Regions from separate parts of the Homo sapiens genome. Here region 2 is linked to region 1. The links are contacts of gene promoters, found by promoter capture Hi-C in blood cells and fetal thymus (Javierre and others, 2016). All regions are on one chromosome and are shown on one strand. The core of a region is centred on a gene start or on the middle of the fragment in contact, and the rest is flanking DNA. Distances in the headings are between cores, read along the strand shown. Region 1 holds the start of DUSP26 (dual specificity phosphatase 26). Region 2 overlaps TTI2 (TELO2 interacting protein 2).

The links. Contacts are between HindIII fragments. The CHiCAGO score rates a contact against its expected background, and 5 or more counts as called.
Region 2: a fragment that was not itself captured here is called in contact with the fragment with the promoter of DUSP26 in region 1 in 7 of 17 cell types (non-activated CD4 T cells, M0 macrophages, monocytes and 4 more); the score reaches 11.1 in non-activated CD4 T cells.

The regions. Positions count from the first base shown.
Region 1 is chr8:33,598,638-33,605,799 of GRCh38, forward strand. It overlaps DUSP26 (dual specificity phosphatase 26), which reads right to left and starts at 1,386. Exons shown (of 4, transcript NM_024025.3): 1 at 1,028-1,386. The HindIII fragment of the contact is 17,028 bases long and covers 1-7,162 here.
Region 2 is chr8:33,500,995-33,507,818 of GRCh38, forward strand. It overlaps TTI2 (TELO2 interacting protein 2), which reads right to left. Exons shown (of 8, transcript NM_001102401.4): 4 at 6,235-6,327; 5 at 2,754-2,941; 6 at 2,435-2,578. It overlaps MAK16 (MAK16 homolog), which reads left to right. Exons shown (of 10, transcript NM_032509.4): 10 at 1-268. Among named protein-coding and RNA genes, the nearest start is that of TTI2, 8.7 kb to the right of the region's middle. The HindIII fragment of the contact is 1,423 bases long and covers 3,776-5,198 here.

The DNA.
Region 1 (7,162 bases), core at 136-2,635:
GAGGGGCTTAGCAGGTGTGTCTCAGATTACCTGTTGAGCTGCAGAGCTGGGAAGGACCAGCGTTTGAGGCTTGCCCTGGGACCTTCAGGCAGGGAGGCAACAATGGCAAGGCCCCTTCCCCCTCCCTCCCCATCCTCTCACACCTGTGGTCCTGCCTGTTTGAAAGCAGGAGGTCCTGGAGCCTGCAGAATCCCCTTCCACTCCCTTCCTGGCCTCCTGCCAGGGGGACTTCAACTCTATGACCAGCAGTGAGAGGCCATCTTTGTCCCTGCCCATGCTCTGTCCCCATCTCACACCCCTAGACAGGGCCCAGCTCTCCCTTGCTCCAGTGCCAAGAGAAACCAAGCACTTACAAGGCATTAGAAGCAGGGGTTTTAGGACCAGGATTGGTGAGGGAAGATTGGATGTTAGGGAGTTTAGGGAGAGAGAGTTTTCAATGGCTGGGTCCGGAAGGAGCACAGAAATATAGCACTACAGCCATCATCACCACCACCATCACCATCATCACTACCACCATCACCACCATCACTATCACCATCATCTTCTTCTACCTTTGCACCCAGGCCTAAAGACCCCATTACTGTATTGCAATACAACCTTTCCTCTTAGAGAGTCTGCTGTCTACGAGATGATGAATGGGATGGGGGAAGCGTGAAGGAGCCCAGGTCTAAGAAGGATCTCCGTGGGGCTGTTTTTCCCGGGGGATGCAGAAGCCCCTTTCTGTCCAGGGATACAGCCCTGGGCATTCTCCAATCCCATCCGTCGGCTCCAGGGGCCCTGGCCCGCCGCTCCCTCCCTCCGCCTGCGGTCGCCTTTGTAACAGGTCCATGGCTGTCGCCCCAGTCCTCGCCAGCCTGGCAGCCGGGCCCCGCGCGCGGAGGGAGGGCGCCCGGGAGAGAGAGGCTGGCTCGCTGGGCTCGGGTGCCCGCTTCCCGGTCCCCTCCCTCCCCCGTCGCCCCTAGCTGGGCGCCTCTCCCCAGCGTGGAGAGCCAGCTGAAAAGGCGAAGGCCCGCCGCAGCCCCTCTACCTCTTTGCAAGCGCTGCGCTGGGCCTCAGTCCGAAAGGCGGATCGCCGGCGCAGACAGCGCCACGGCCATGACGCTCCTGCTGCTGTCGCCGCCGCTGTTTCTGCCCAAGACAGGTTGACAGATTAGCAGCTATTTTTAAGCCATGACACACACGTCGAAGCAGGGTTCAAATCAGCGTGTGCGCTGGTGACATAAAGGGACTCGGTCTCACATTCGGTGGCCCGAGTCGCCAGGCAGCGTGGGCTCCCCAGCCAACCCCCCACGAGCCCGCGCGCCTTGCAGACCAGACACGGCCCCGCCGAGCCCCAGCAGCACCGCCTGGAATGCATGCGTGTGTTCTCAGAGCTGCACCAATTACAAAGCGTTTTGCCTAAAGATTACATTATAAGTCATCCCAGGCACTGTCTTAAACACACACACTCCTCCCAGACAGAATTAACTAATTACATAGACACGATTCTGTGCACTGGCTTGTACATGCCTCGGTCTCAAGAAACCGTGTCATAAAGAACAATGGTCCGAAGCCCCCATTAGCCTTCATTATATGCCATGTGCTTCATTTAGCTTAAGGCATTTTATACTCCCCACAAGTCTATGAGGGAGACATAATTACTATTGTCCTAATTTTAGGGAGGAGGCGACCTAGGCACAGAGAGGCTAGGTACTCTGCCCTGGTCACACAGCTCGTTACTGGCAGAGCTGAGCTTGTTCAAACAATGCAGCCTGGCTTTGCAGTTTATGTCCTTAACCACTCTCTAAACCAGTGCCTCCCACAAAATGGAGAAGGCACCATGGATTTCCTTCATTCAGGAAGCCATTTCCACCAGCTCAGCTCATAGTGAACTTCACTTTCCCCAGACTCTCAAAACATTCATCTTCATATTTCTTTCTTTCTTTTTTGAGATGCAGTCCCACTCTGTCGCCCAGGCTGGAGTGCAGTGGCGCAATCTTGGCTCATTGTAACCCGCCTCCCAGGTTCAAGCCATTCTCCTGCCTCAGCTTCCCAAGTAGCTGGGATTACAGGCGCCCGCCTCCATGCCTGGCTAATTTTTTGTATATATTTTTTCTTTGTTTGTTTGTTTTTTAGTACAGATGGGGTTTCACCATGTTGACCAGGCTGGTCTTGAACTCCTGACCTCAGGTGATCCACCCACCTTCTCTCAAAGTGCTCAGATTACAGGCATGAGCCACTGTGTCCGGCCATCTTCATATTAATTTCTCATGTGCTGCCTTCTAGTGACATATTCACTTGATCGGCATTTTTATTGTAAGCACCAAGATTGTAAGCACTTTGAAGGCAGGGACTGTGCTACCTTCCCCAGTGCCTACCTTATTGTGTGAGAGGGAAGTGGGGGAGATGATAAATGTTAGCAGATGATGCTGTTGAGAACTAGGCTGGCTTGAACTCTCGCTGTCTACTAGAAGAAAGGCAGAAAGTAGATTGGCTCAGATTGAAGCTGATGGTGTCAGCTATAGCTGAAACCAGGACTGACTCCATTCCCAGCAGTGGTGGCAGATCAGGTTTTGATCTCTGGGTTAGAGAAAGTACTGGCCAATGTGACCAATCCCCAGGTTCCATGACAGGCTGCCATCCAAGTTTAATGTACCGCCTAGCCTTTTTTTTTCTCTAGAGAAACAAAATTCTTTTCACTTTTCCTTGTCCCTTGTGTTACAGCAGTTTAAATATGAAATGAAATCCTTGTCATTTAAAACAAAGAGGCAGGGCATGGTGGCTCACACCTGTAATCCCAGCACTTTGGGAGGCCAGGGTGGGCAGATCACCTGAGGTCAGGAGTTCGAGACCAGCCTGGCCAACATGGTGAAACCCCATCTCTACTAAAAAACAAAAATTAGCCGGGTGTGGTGGCAGGCGCCTGTAGTCCCAGCTACTTGGGAAGCTGAGGTGGGAGAATCACTTGAACATGGAAGGTGGAGGTTGTAATGAGCTGAGATCATGCCACTGCACTCCAGCCTGAGCGACAGAGCGAGGCTCCCTCTCAACAAACAAACAAAAGCGAAAATAAACAATCAAACAAACAACAAAAAACCCCAAGGAATTGACCTGAGAAATTTGAGATTTTAATTTGCGCATCCAAATTAAAATTTGGATTTAATTTGCAAACCTAGTTAAAACATTATCATAAAAGGAATTGTGAAAGAGCACTTACAAGATCAATATCTTTTTTTTGTTTGTTTGTTTGAGACGGAGTTTTGCTCTTTTTGCCCAGGCTGGAGTGCAATGGTGCAATGTCAGCTCACCGCAACCTCCACCTCCCGGGTTCAAGCGATTCTCCTGCCTCAGCCTCTCAAGTAGCTGGGATTACAGGCATGTGCCACCATGCCTGGCTAATTTGGTATTTTTTAGTAGAGACAGGGTTTCTCCATGTTGGCCAAGCTGGTCTCGAACTCCCGACCTCAGGTGAAGATCAATGTCATTTTAAGTGAAAAGTCTTCAAGATTGGTAGGTTGAGAGGATGTTGTAGGTAAAGCTGATCTCAATCTTTGACAAGACCTCTGTTTCAACCCTGCATTACACTTTTTTCAAAAAGCGGGGAAAATACAGTTTAAAGTACACCACAGACAATGTGTACAGCTGTTTATGGGTAATTATAGAAATTACCTGGGGACTGACATATCCGTGAGGATCATTTTCATGAGTCGATCTATAGCCCACTTGATTTCTTTTGTTTTGTTTTGTTTTGTTTTTTTGTTTGTTTTTTTGATTTTTTTTTGAGGCAGGGTCTCAGGCTGGAGTGCAGTGGTAAAATCATAGCTCACTGCAGCCTCAACCTCCTGGGCTTAAACCATCCTCTTTTAAACGATCCTCTTGCCTCAGCCTCCTAAGTAGCTGGGACTATACAGGTGCATGCCACAATGCCTGGCGATTTTTTTTTCTTTTTTTTTTTTTTAAGACAGAGTCTTGCTCTGTCTCCTAGGCTGGAGTGCAGTGGTGTGATCTTGGCTCACTGCAACTGCTGCCTCCCCAGTTCAAGCAATTCTTGTGTGTCGCCTCCTGAGTAGCTGGGATGACAAGTGCATGCCACCACACCTGGCTAATTTTTGTATTTTTTGTAGAGATTAGGTTTCACCATGTTGGCCAGGCTGGTCTCAAGCTCCTGACCTCAGGTGGTCTGCCCGCCTCAGCCTCCCAAAGTGCTGGGATTATAGGCCAGAGCCACCATGCCCTGCCAATCAGCTCATTTTATCTCACCCATATATTAAATTGGTGTCATCATTCTGATTGAATACCTGAGAGAGACTGACATTTGGTCAGATTAGTTAACTCATCCACATCTAGTGTGTGGCAGGACACAGGTTCAAACCCAGGGCTATCTTATTTGAAACTTCAGTGTTTCAAGACTAGGCTGGAGAATCGTTTCCTCTGTAAAGCCTTTTTGGATTCACTCTTTTTTTTTTTCGAGACCAAGTCTTGCTCTGTTGCCCAGGCTGGAGTGCAGTGGCATGATCTCAGCTCACTGCAACCTCTGCCTCCTGGGTTCAAGCAATTCTCCTGCCTCATCCTCCTGAGTAGCTGGAATTATAGGCATGCACCACCATGCCCAGCTAACTTTTTGTATTTTTAGTAGAGACGGGGTTTCACCAAGTTGGCCAGGTTGGTCTCGGGCTCCTGACCTCATGATCTACTTGCCTCAGCCTCCCAAAGTGCTGGGATTATAGGTGTGAGCCACCGTGCCCGGCCTGGATCCACTCTTTTTTTTGTTTGTTTTTTGAGATGAAGTCTTGCTCTGTCACCCAGGCTGGAGTGCAGTGGCTCAGTCTCAGCTCACTGCAACCTCCACCTCTCGGATTCAAGCAGTTCTCCTGCATCAGCCTCCCAAGTAGCTGGGATATAAGAGTGTGCCACCGTGCCTGGCTAAATTTTGTATTTTTAGTAGAGACAGGATTTCGCCATCTTGGCCAAGCTGGTCTCAAACTCCTGACCTCAAGTGATCTGCCTGCCTCGGCCTCCCAAAGTGCTGGGATTACAGGCATGAGCCACTGTGCCCAGCCTGGATCCACTCTTATTTGTCCGTTTCCTTCTTTGTGCTCATATACACTTCCATCAAAGGACCTATGAGCTATATTTGTTTCACTTATTTATACACTTATTTAAATTCATATTGCCCGTACTAGAAGCACGAATGGATACACTATGCTGGGATGAAGAGATTAGAGATGGAAAAATAAGGCTATGGAAAGATAAAGATAGGGCCAGGAACTGCAGCTCGTATGCCTGTAATCCCAACACTTTGGCGGACCGAGGTGGGAGGATTTCATGAAGCCAGGAGTTGGAGACCAGCCTAGGGAACATAGTGAGACCATGACTCTACAAAAAATAAAGAATTAGCTGGCCATGGTGGCAAGCACCTGTAGTCCTAGCTACTCAGGAGGGTGAGGTGGGAAGATCGCTGGAGCCCAGGAGTTTGAGGCTGCCGTGAGTCATGATTGTGCCACTGCACTCCAGCCTGGGTGACTCAAAAAAAAAAAAAAGACAAAAATAGATTTCAAAATAGTTCTGAAAGAAATGATTAAATAAATATACAGACAGGGAGGTGTTCAAAAATAGAATGTGGGAAAAAAGAAAAAACAAGAATGACCATCAAAATATGGCATATGTTAAAGGTCAATTCTAACTGCTACCATTTAATTATGGGCTGGGCTTTACATACATTAGCGAATTCAATCCCATAAATAGATTTAATTAATTCAATTTTACTGTTGAGGAAACAGGTTTAGAGTGCTGGTGGTAAATCCGCTCTGAGGCCAGAGAGCTAATGAGTAGAATTTGAGCATGGATTTCAACCTAGAACTATTTTAAACCAAAGCCTGTGCCTCAAACCACTGTAGTAGACTTAAAGAAAATAGAAGAGTAGTTGTTAAAATGTATCAAGTCCTGCTGCGTGCCAGGCATTTAACAGAAATGGCATGAATCATTCTCAAGCGACTCTCCTGGCTTTGTCCCTTCGGGGATGTGGCTCCCCGTGGCAGGATCTGCGAGGTGCGATGCGTACAGAAGGTTGGGACCAGCAGCCTCTTCAATCTCTGGAGAAGCTCCCTGCTGCTCTGTAATTCTTCCTCCTAAGTAGAGGATAGCGCTTCCTCCCAACCACACACCAGATACCGCCATGCCCATCCCTCCTGGGCTGGTGCACCCTGAAATCTGCTGCTGGGTGAAACAGCACTTTCACTTAATGCTTCAGATAGCAGAGGACCGACAGCTGTGACTTTATTTGGTGATGGAATAAATAAGGTGAGGGGGACGAGGGGCACAGAATGTTCTTCAAGGGTGCCCATTTTCATAATGTTATTTTTCTAAATCTGCATCTTCCCAGTCCCAAACCTTCTTCAGCTTTTTTTTGTTGACTGTTTAACTCCTGCTTTCCTCCACGTCCTTGCGTGTGCTTTGTGTCAGTTCTTTCAGGTACCAAGCGGGTGGTGGTGTTAGTGGGGCTCTTGCTGGCTCTGAACTGGGGAGAGAGGCACGCTGGTCTTTTGCGTAGAGTGAGAATCTGGTTTTGCTTCAACTCCACTTCTGTCCTTCACCTTTCCACCAATGCATTCCCCTCCATTTTCCTACTGATTTACCTGGGGGTGAAACCATCTTAACACTGTTAATATTAAATATTAACTTTCTTCTAAGGACCACACACTGTTGCAAGAGCAGAAATTCTTTCCATTAGCATAACTTTGTAAGGGACACTAGTGCTCCTCTAATGGTAATAAAGTAGAATTATTATTTGCAAAACAGGATACAAAACGAATATACAGTAAATCTCAGTATTGCAACAACAAGGAGATAGAAAAAAAATTCCTAAATACACATCTTGAGAAAGACTGAAAAGAAGCATGTCAAATACTAAAAGAGGTAAACTGTAGCCAGAACAGGATTTCAGATAATTTTGTTTGTTTTCAGATAGGGACTTGCTCTGGCACCCAGGCTAGAGTGCAGTGGTGCAATCCTGGCTCACTGCATCCTCAATCTCCTGGGCTCAAAGGATCCTCTTGCCTCAGGCTCCCAAATAGCTGGGATTACAGGGAGGCACCACCACACCCAGTTATTATTATTATGATTTTTTGTATAGATGGGGTCTCTCTATGTTGCCCAGGCTGGTCTTGAACTCCTGGCTTCAAGT
Region 2 (6,824 bases), core at 3,237-5,736, 95 kb before region 1:
CCAGCCTACTTACTTGTAACTATTAACCTTTCTAAAAGTTTTCATCGCCTTGGTAAAGCTCCAGAAATGGACAATGCTAGTGACTGCACAATATTGTGACTGTACTTAATGCCACTGAACTGTACACTTTAAAATGGAAAATTTATATGTATTTTTACCACAATAAACAAAAAACCCTAAAAAAACTTTAATGAAAGGTGGAAAATAATTTAACTTACAATGTGAAAATACAATGTGAAATGTACAATAAATCATATTTATGGACAGATGCGTGACTGGGAGAAAAAAGTTTTCATCTCTATCTAAATACTCCTCATTTTCCTATGGTTTGGGTGCCTCTCAGCCCTCGTTATTCAACTTATAATCGGCTCTGTTTTCCATTTCCCATGCTTCACCCCCTCATACGCATACACACATATTCCTTTTCTACCTCCCTACATTTATTCACTCTCCCTTCTTGGAATCTTGGTCTCTGCTCTTTAAAGACCTGACAATCTGATTCGATTTTATTCATCCATTGATTCATTCTCTTCCAGTCCATTCATTCTTTGAATATTTGTATACCTAATACTAGGTACTGAACATACTTTGGGAGAATATAATAGATGTGGTTTTCCGTTATCCTGGAGATTATAATTCCGTAGGGAGAAAGATAGTAAACAAATGCAACCTAGTTACCAATATGACTAAGGGAAAGGTTGTCATGGGGAAATGTTACTCTGGATTCCTTGCACATTTATAAGGAAGTGAGAGAATACGGTGCAGAATAGCTACTGTATGTTGTTGGGGCACTAGATTCTCTGGCTGAATTCAATTTTCAGCTATGCAAGAGATGCTTCTGCTGACTCCACAGTTTGGGTTCCAGTTCCTGACACCTACCTCAAGCCAGAGTTGGAATGATTTCCAAGCAAGTATATCCTACATTAGTATGCTTTTTTTAAATTTTTATTATTTTTTTTTATATTTTGAGACAGAGTCTCGCTCCGTCACCCAGTCTGGAGTGCAGTGGTTCCATTGCACCTCACTGCAACCTCTGCCTCCTGGGTCCAAGTGATTCTACTGCTTCAGCCTCCTGAGTAGCTGGGACTACAGGTGCGCGCCACCATGCCCGGCTAAGTTTTGTATATTTAGTAAAGACGGGGTTTCACCATATTGGCCAGGCTGGTCTTGAACTCCTGACCTTAGGTGATCCACCAGCCTTGCCCTCCCAAAGTGCTGGGATTACAGGCGTGAGCCACCGCACCTGGCCTCTAGATTGGTATTCTGATCACTGCTCTGCAGATGTTAAATGATGTGCTATGAAGTACTCTATTCTCAATTAGATTTAAAGAACATTAGGATTAACAAAGTTAAGCAAATGTTTTATTGCAACACTTCTAAATGACCTTTAATCTTCTAATATGCATTCTAAATCTAGAGAGAGGTACAACCTGTATGGTTTCCCAACCTATTTGACCACAGAATTTTTTTTTTTTTCCTGTGGGGCATCAAAGAGTACCTAGATGGAGATTCTGCAAAACACCAATCTAAACCATTCTTAAGATATATAGCCAGGCACAGTGGCCCACGCCTATAATCCCAGCACTTTAGGAGGCTGAGGAGGGGAAATCACGAGGTCAGGAGTTCGAGACCAGCCTGGCCAACATGGTGAAACACCATCTCTACTAAAAATTTTTTAAAAATTAGCCAGGCATGGTGGAGGGCACCTGTAATCCCAGCTACTCAGGAGGCTAAGGCAGGAGAATCACTTGAATCCAGGAGGCAGAGGTTGCAGTGAGCTGAGATCGCGCCATTGCACTCCGGCCTGGGTGACAGAGCAATACTCCATCTCAAAAACAAAAACAAAAACAAAAGGCTGGGCATGGTGGCTCACGCCTGTAACCCCAGCACTTTGGGAGGCCAAGGCGGGTGGATTACAAGGTCAGGAGTTCAAGACCAGCCTGGCCAACATAGTGAAACCCCATCTCTACTGAAAATACAAAAAATTAGCCGGGCCTGGCGGTGGGCGCCTGTAATCCCAGCTACTTGGGAGACTGAGGTAGGAGAATCACTTGAACCCAGGAGGCAGAGGTTGCAGTGGGCAGAGATCGCGCCACTGGACTCCAGCCTGGGCGACAGTGTGAGACTCCATTTCAAAAAAAAAAAAAAAAAAAACAAAAAAGATATACTAGAGTTTCAAAGAGAAGCGATTTAACTGTCAGAATCTGGAACTGATACCTGGTAAAAGAGTCAACTATGAGCACCTCAAGTAACTATAGTATATTTTATCTTTCTAATGCCATTTTCTCAGTTTAAAATCCTATAGGTGTGTGAAAATGGGAGGTATTCAAATACATAGTATACATTTAATACTTTGTACTGAATGTATTAAATACATCCAAGCAAGTTCTCAAGAGAAAATCGGCTGAGTTTTGCACCTTAAGGCTGCTATTACCTGGGCCAAGTATGTTGCATGAGAAGTTTTAGGGTTTCCAATATCTTCAGTCTAGCTTCCTCCTCAGGTCCATCATAAACCTCCAGATAACCAATGATGACTCTCTCCAGCCTCTTTAAGTGCCGGACAGTTAGGATCCCCAACCTAAAGATGAAAGAGAAAATATGACGCCAGTGCAGTGGCTCATGCCTGTAATCCCAGTACTTTGGGAGGCTGAGGTGGGAGGATTGCTTGAGGCCAGGAGCTCGAGAGCAGCTCAAGCAACATAGCAAGATCCTGTCTGTATAAAATAATAATAAATAAAAGCCCAGGGCCTCACCTGTTCACGAAAGCCGGCAGGTTTCTTGCGTAGGTCCTGCGTAAAAGAAGGCGGTGCTCTGGCTCCATGTGGGTCAGGATCAGCCGCAGGACCTCATCACAATGGGTGGTGGGTCGAGCTCCATCTCCTTTCCAGTGCAGGGTTTTCTCCAGGATGGGGAATAAATCCAGCAGACACAGGAGCACAGCCTAGGAGGAAGGAATGGAAGGACGGTGCATAGTTCATCCATTTGCATTTACAATACTCACTGACTTCTCTAGAACTTCATTAATCTACCGTCCTTAGGGTCCATACCAGAGAATTCTAAGATACTAGTAATCATATATGAACTGCACATTACTTTACATTTTCAAACTTTTTTACATTCTTAATCTCCATCTGACAGTCTCAAATCAATACATTCTCCTCAGGACCATTCTTTGCTAATTTATAAAATCGGAAAAATGGCAGAGCTGGGACTTTAATCCAGATTTTAGGAATCTAAGTCTACTGTTACTATGTCACTAAGTCTAAGTGACTTAGTGATACATGATATTTACACATTTTTTTTTTTTTTTTTTTTTTTTTGTGAGACAGAGTCACTCTGTCACCTAGGCTGAAGGACAGTGGTGCAATCTTGGCTCACTGCAACCTCCGCTTCTCAGGCTCAAGCGATTCTCGTGCCTCAGCCACCTAACTAGTTGGGACTACAGGTGTGCACCACCACACTTGGCTAACTTTTCTATTTTTTAGTAGAGACAAAGTTTCACCATCCTGGCCTCAAGTGATCCACTCGCCTTGGCTTCCTAAAGTGCTAGGATTTATCCCTAGGCCAGGGGTATCCAATCTTTTGGCTTCCCTGGGTCACAGTGGAAGAAGAATTGTCTTGGGCTACATATAAAATACACTAACACTAATGACAGCTGATGAGCTTTAAAAAAAAAATGCAAAAAAAATCTTACAACATTTTAAGAAAGTTTACAGATTTGTGTTGGGCTGCATGCAAAGCCATCTTGGGATGCATGCAGGCCATGGCTTGGACAAGCTTGGTTCAGGTACTTCCTTTTAACTTTCCTGGGACCTTTGGTTTTTCTCTTGGTGTTTTGGTTTTCTAAAATTTATTTTCTCTACCACCTTAAGAACCCCAGCCTTTCCGGCTGTTACAATCTGGATTCTCAATACCCAGTATTTAAAATACTGTAAAAAGAAAAAGAGGCTGGGTGCAGTGGCCTATGCCTGTAATCCTAGTATCTTGGGAAGCCAAGGCGGGCGGATCACTTGAGGTCAGGAGTTTGAGACCAGGCTGGGCAACATGGCAAAACCCCGTCTCTGCTAAAAATACAAAAATTAGCTGGGCATGGTGGCACCTGCCTGTAATCCCAGCTACTAGGGAGGCTGAGGCAGAAGGATCGCTTGAACCTGGGAGGCGAAGGTTGCAATGTGCCAAGATCGCGCCACTGTACTCCGGCCTGCATGACAGAGCAAGATCCACCTCAAAAAAATAAATTAAATAAAATAAAAATAAAGGCAGCAGGGTGGGGAGGGGGAAAGGAGGGAAGTAAGGCATAAAAAAGAAACAACGTTGCTTCCACCTCTCATTTTATATAACTTGTTTCTTCTGTCTTTGTAGTTTCTTTCTCCCTCCTAAGAAACTTTTACTTATTCATCCTTCATAAAGCTAAGTATCACCTCCTTCCCAAAACCTCCTAAAGTCAACCCAAACCTAGTTAGTTACCTATTGCTTGAAAGCCACTGCACCTTTTTTTTTTCTTTTTTTTTTGAGATGTAGTTTCACTCTCGTTGCCCAGGCTGGAGGGCAATGGCATGATCTCGGCTCACTGCAACCTCTGCCTCCTGGGTTCAAGCAATTTTCCTGCCTCAGCCTCCTGAGTAGCTGGGATTAGAGGCATGCGCCACCATGCCTGGCTAATTTTGCATTTGTTTTTTAGACGGAGTGTTACTTTGTCACCAGGCTGGAGTGCAGTGGCGCGATCTTGGCTCACCGCAACCTCCGCCTCCTGGGTTCAAGTGATTCTCCTGCTTCAGCCTTCCGAGTAGCTGTGACTACAGACACGTGCCACCATGCCCGGCTAATTTTTTGCATTTTTAGTAGAGATGGGATTTCACCATGTTAGCCAGGATGGTCTCGATCTCCCGACCTCGTGATCCGCCCACCTCAGCCTCTCAAAGTGCTAGGATTACAGATGTGAGCAACCATGCCCAGCAATTTTGCATTTTTAGTAGAACGGGGTTTCTCCATGTTGGTCAGGTTGGTCTTGAACTCCCAACCTCAGGTGGTCTGCCTGCCTCGGCCTCCCAAAATGCTGGGATTACAGGCGTGAGCCCTCGCGCCTGGCCACCCACTGCGCTTTATAGAAACCTCTTCTAATGCAGTCATCATTCTGTACTGTATATATATGTAGACATCTAAGTACATATTCGTATTTACATAAATGTCTTTTCCAAAGCTTATCTTAAAGCCAAAAATCCCTATCCGTTCATTTACTCTTGGAACCATGTCTGTTGGATGAAATAATAAATCACACTCCGATATCTAACATGCAAGAAGTTTCAAGTGTGTGTGCTGATAAAAGGCAAAACAGAACACTTAACTAATAAAAATAGACTTTTTCAGACATAAAGCTGCCTCCAAAGTAACGTACTTTTTTTTTTTTTTTTTTTTGAGATGGAGTCTCGCTCTGTCACCCAGGCTGGAGTGCTGTGGCATGATCTCGGCTCACTGCAACCTCCACCTCCTGGGTTCAAGAGATTCTCCTGACTCAGCCTCCCGAGTAGCTGGGACTACAGACACGTGCCACCACGCCTGGCTAATTTTTCCTATTTTTAGTAGAGGCGGGGTTTCACCATATTAGCCAGGATGGTCTTGATCTCCTGACCTCGTGATCCGCCCGCCTCGGCCTCCCAAAGTGCTGGGATTTACAGGTGTGAGCCACAGTGCCAGGCTTTTTTTTTTTTTTTAAATTGAGATGGAGTCTCGCACTGTCACCCAGGCTGGAGTGCAGTGACGTGACCTCAGCTCACTGCAACCTCCGCCACCCGGGTTCAAATGATTCTTGTGCCTCAGCCTCCTGAGTAGTAGGGACTACAGATGCACAACATCATGCCCGGCTAATTTTTTTGTATTTTTAGTAGAGATGGGGTTTTGGCATGTCAGCCAGGCTGGTCTCGAACTCCTGACCTCAGGTGATCTGCCTCCCTCAGCCTCCCAAAGTGCTGGGATTACAGGCGTGAGCCACCATGCCCAGCCCAAAGTAATATACAATTGACTCAGATGAATAAAAAACACTGTCTTATCTGTGGAGACTCAGGAATGTGGAGGCCTGCTTGGTGCTGAGATATTTTTAACTTGGCAACGCTTTTAGTTATCATCCTCACTTTCCAAGGCAGGAAAATGTCTCTCAATTACTACTACTCACACAATGCAACCTTCTACTCAAATTCAGAGAATCCAGACCCAGTTATGAAGAAATCATACTATTACCTGAATGAGGTGGTGCTCTGGTGTGTACAGGTGGTTGGAAATGGCATGGTATAGGACCTGGGCTCTGTTATACTGGAGCAAATCAGCAGCTGGCTGCAACCAGACAAATCGTCAAATTAAAAGAATAGTTTCCCAAGATTGGCACATGTTGACTATCTTTGAAATTGGATTATGGGTATGAAGCATGAAGAACATGCCATCCCAAAATATGCATGATTGTTTCGAGTTGAAAATATTGCAGAAACTGTAGATTCAGAAAGGGTGAGCTGACTTGTCTCTTTCTGCATGCAGCAAGTGATAAAAGATTCCTCTGGGTGGGGTATGCTTTCCATACCAGGGTAAGAAAACAGCCCTTACAGAGACTTGGAATTGAAGGCTGCAATGGACCTACATAAACTGAACAAAGTAACCTTTATCTTCCACCTATCCATCCCCCCACCACCTACAACCATGTATCTCCTAGTGACTACCCTAGAGCCAAGCATGGTGACTCACACCTGTAACCCCAGCACTTTGGAAAGCCAAGGTGAGAGGCTCACTTAAGGCCAAGTTTGACAGCAGCCTGGGCAACAGAGCAAGACCCTGTCTCT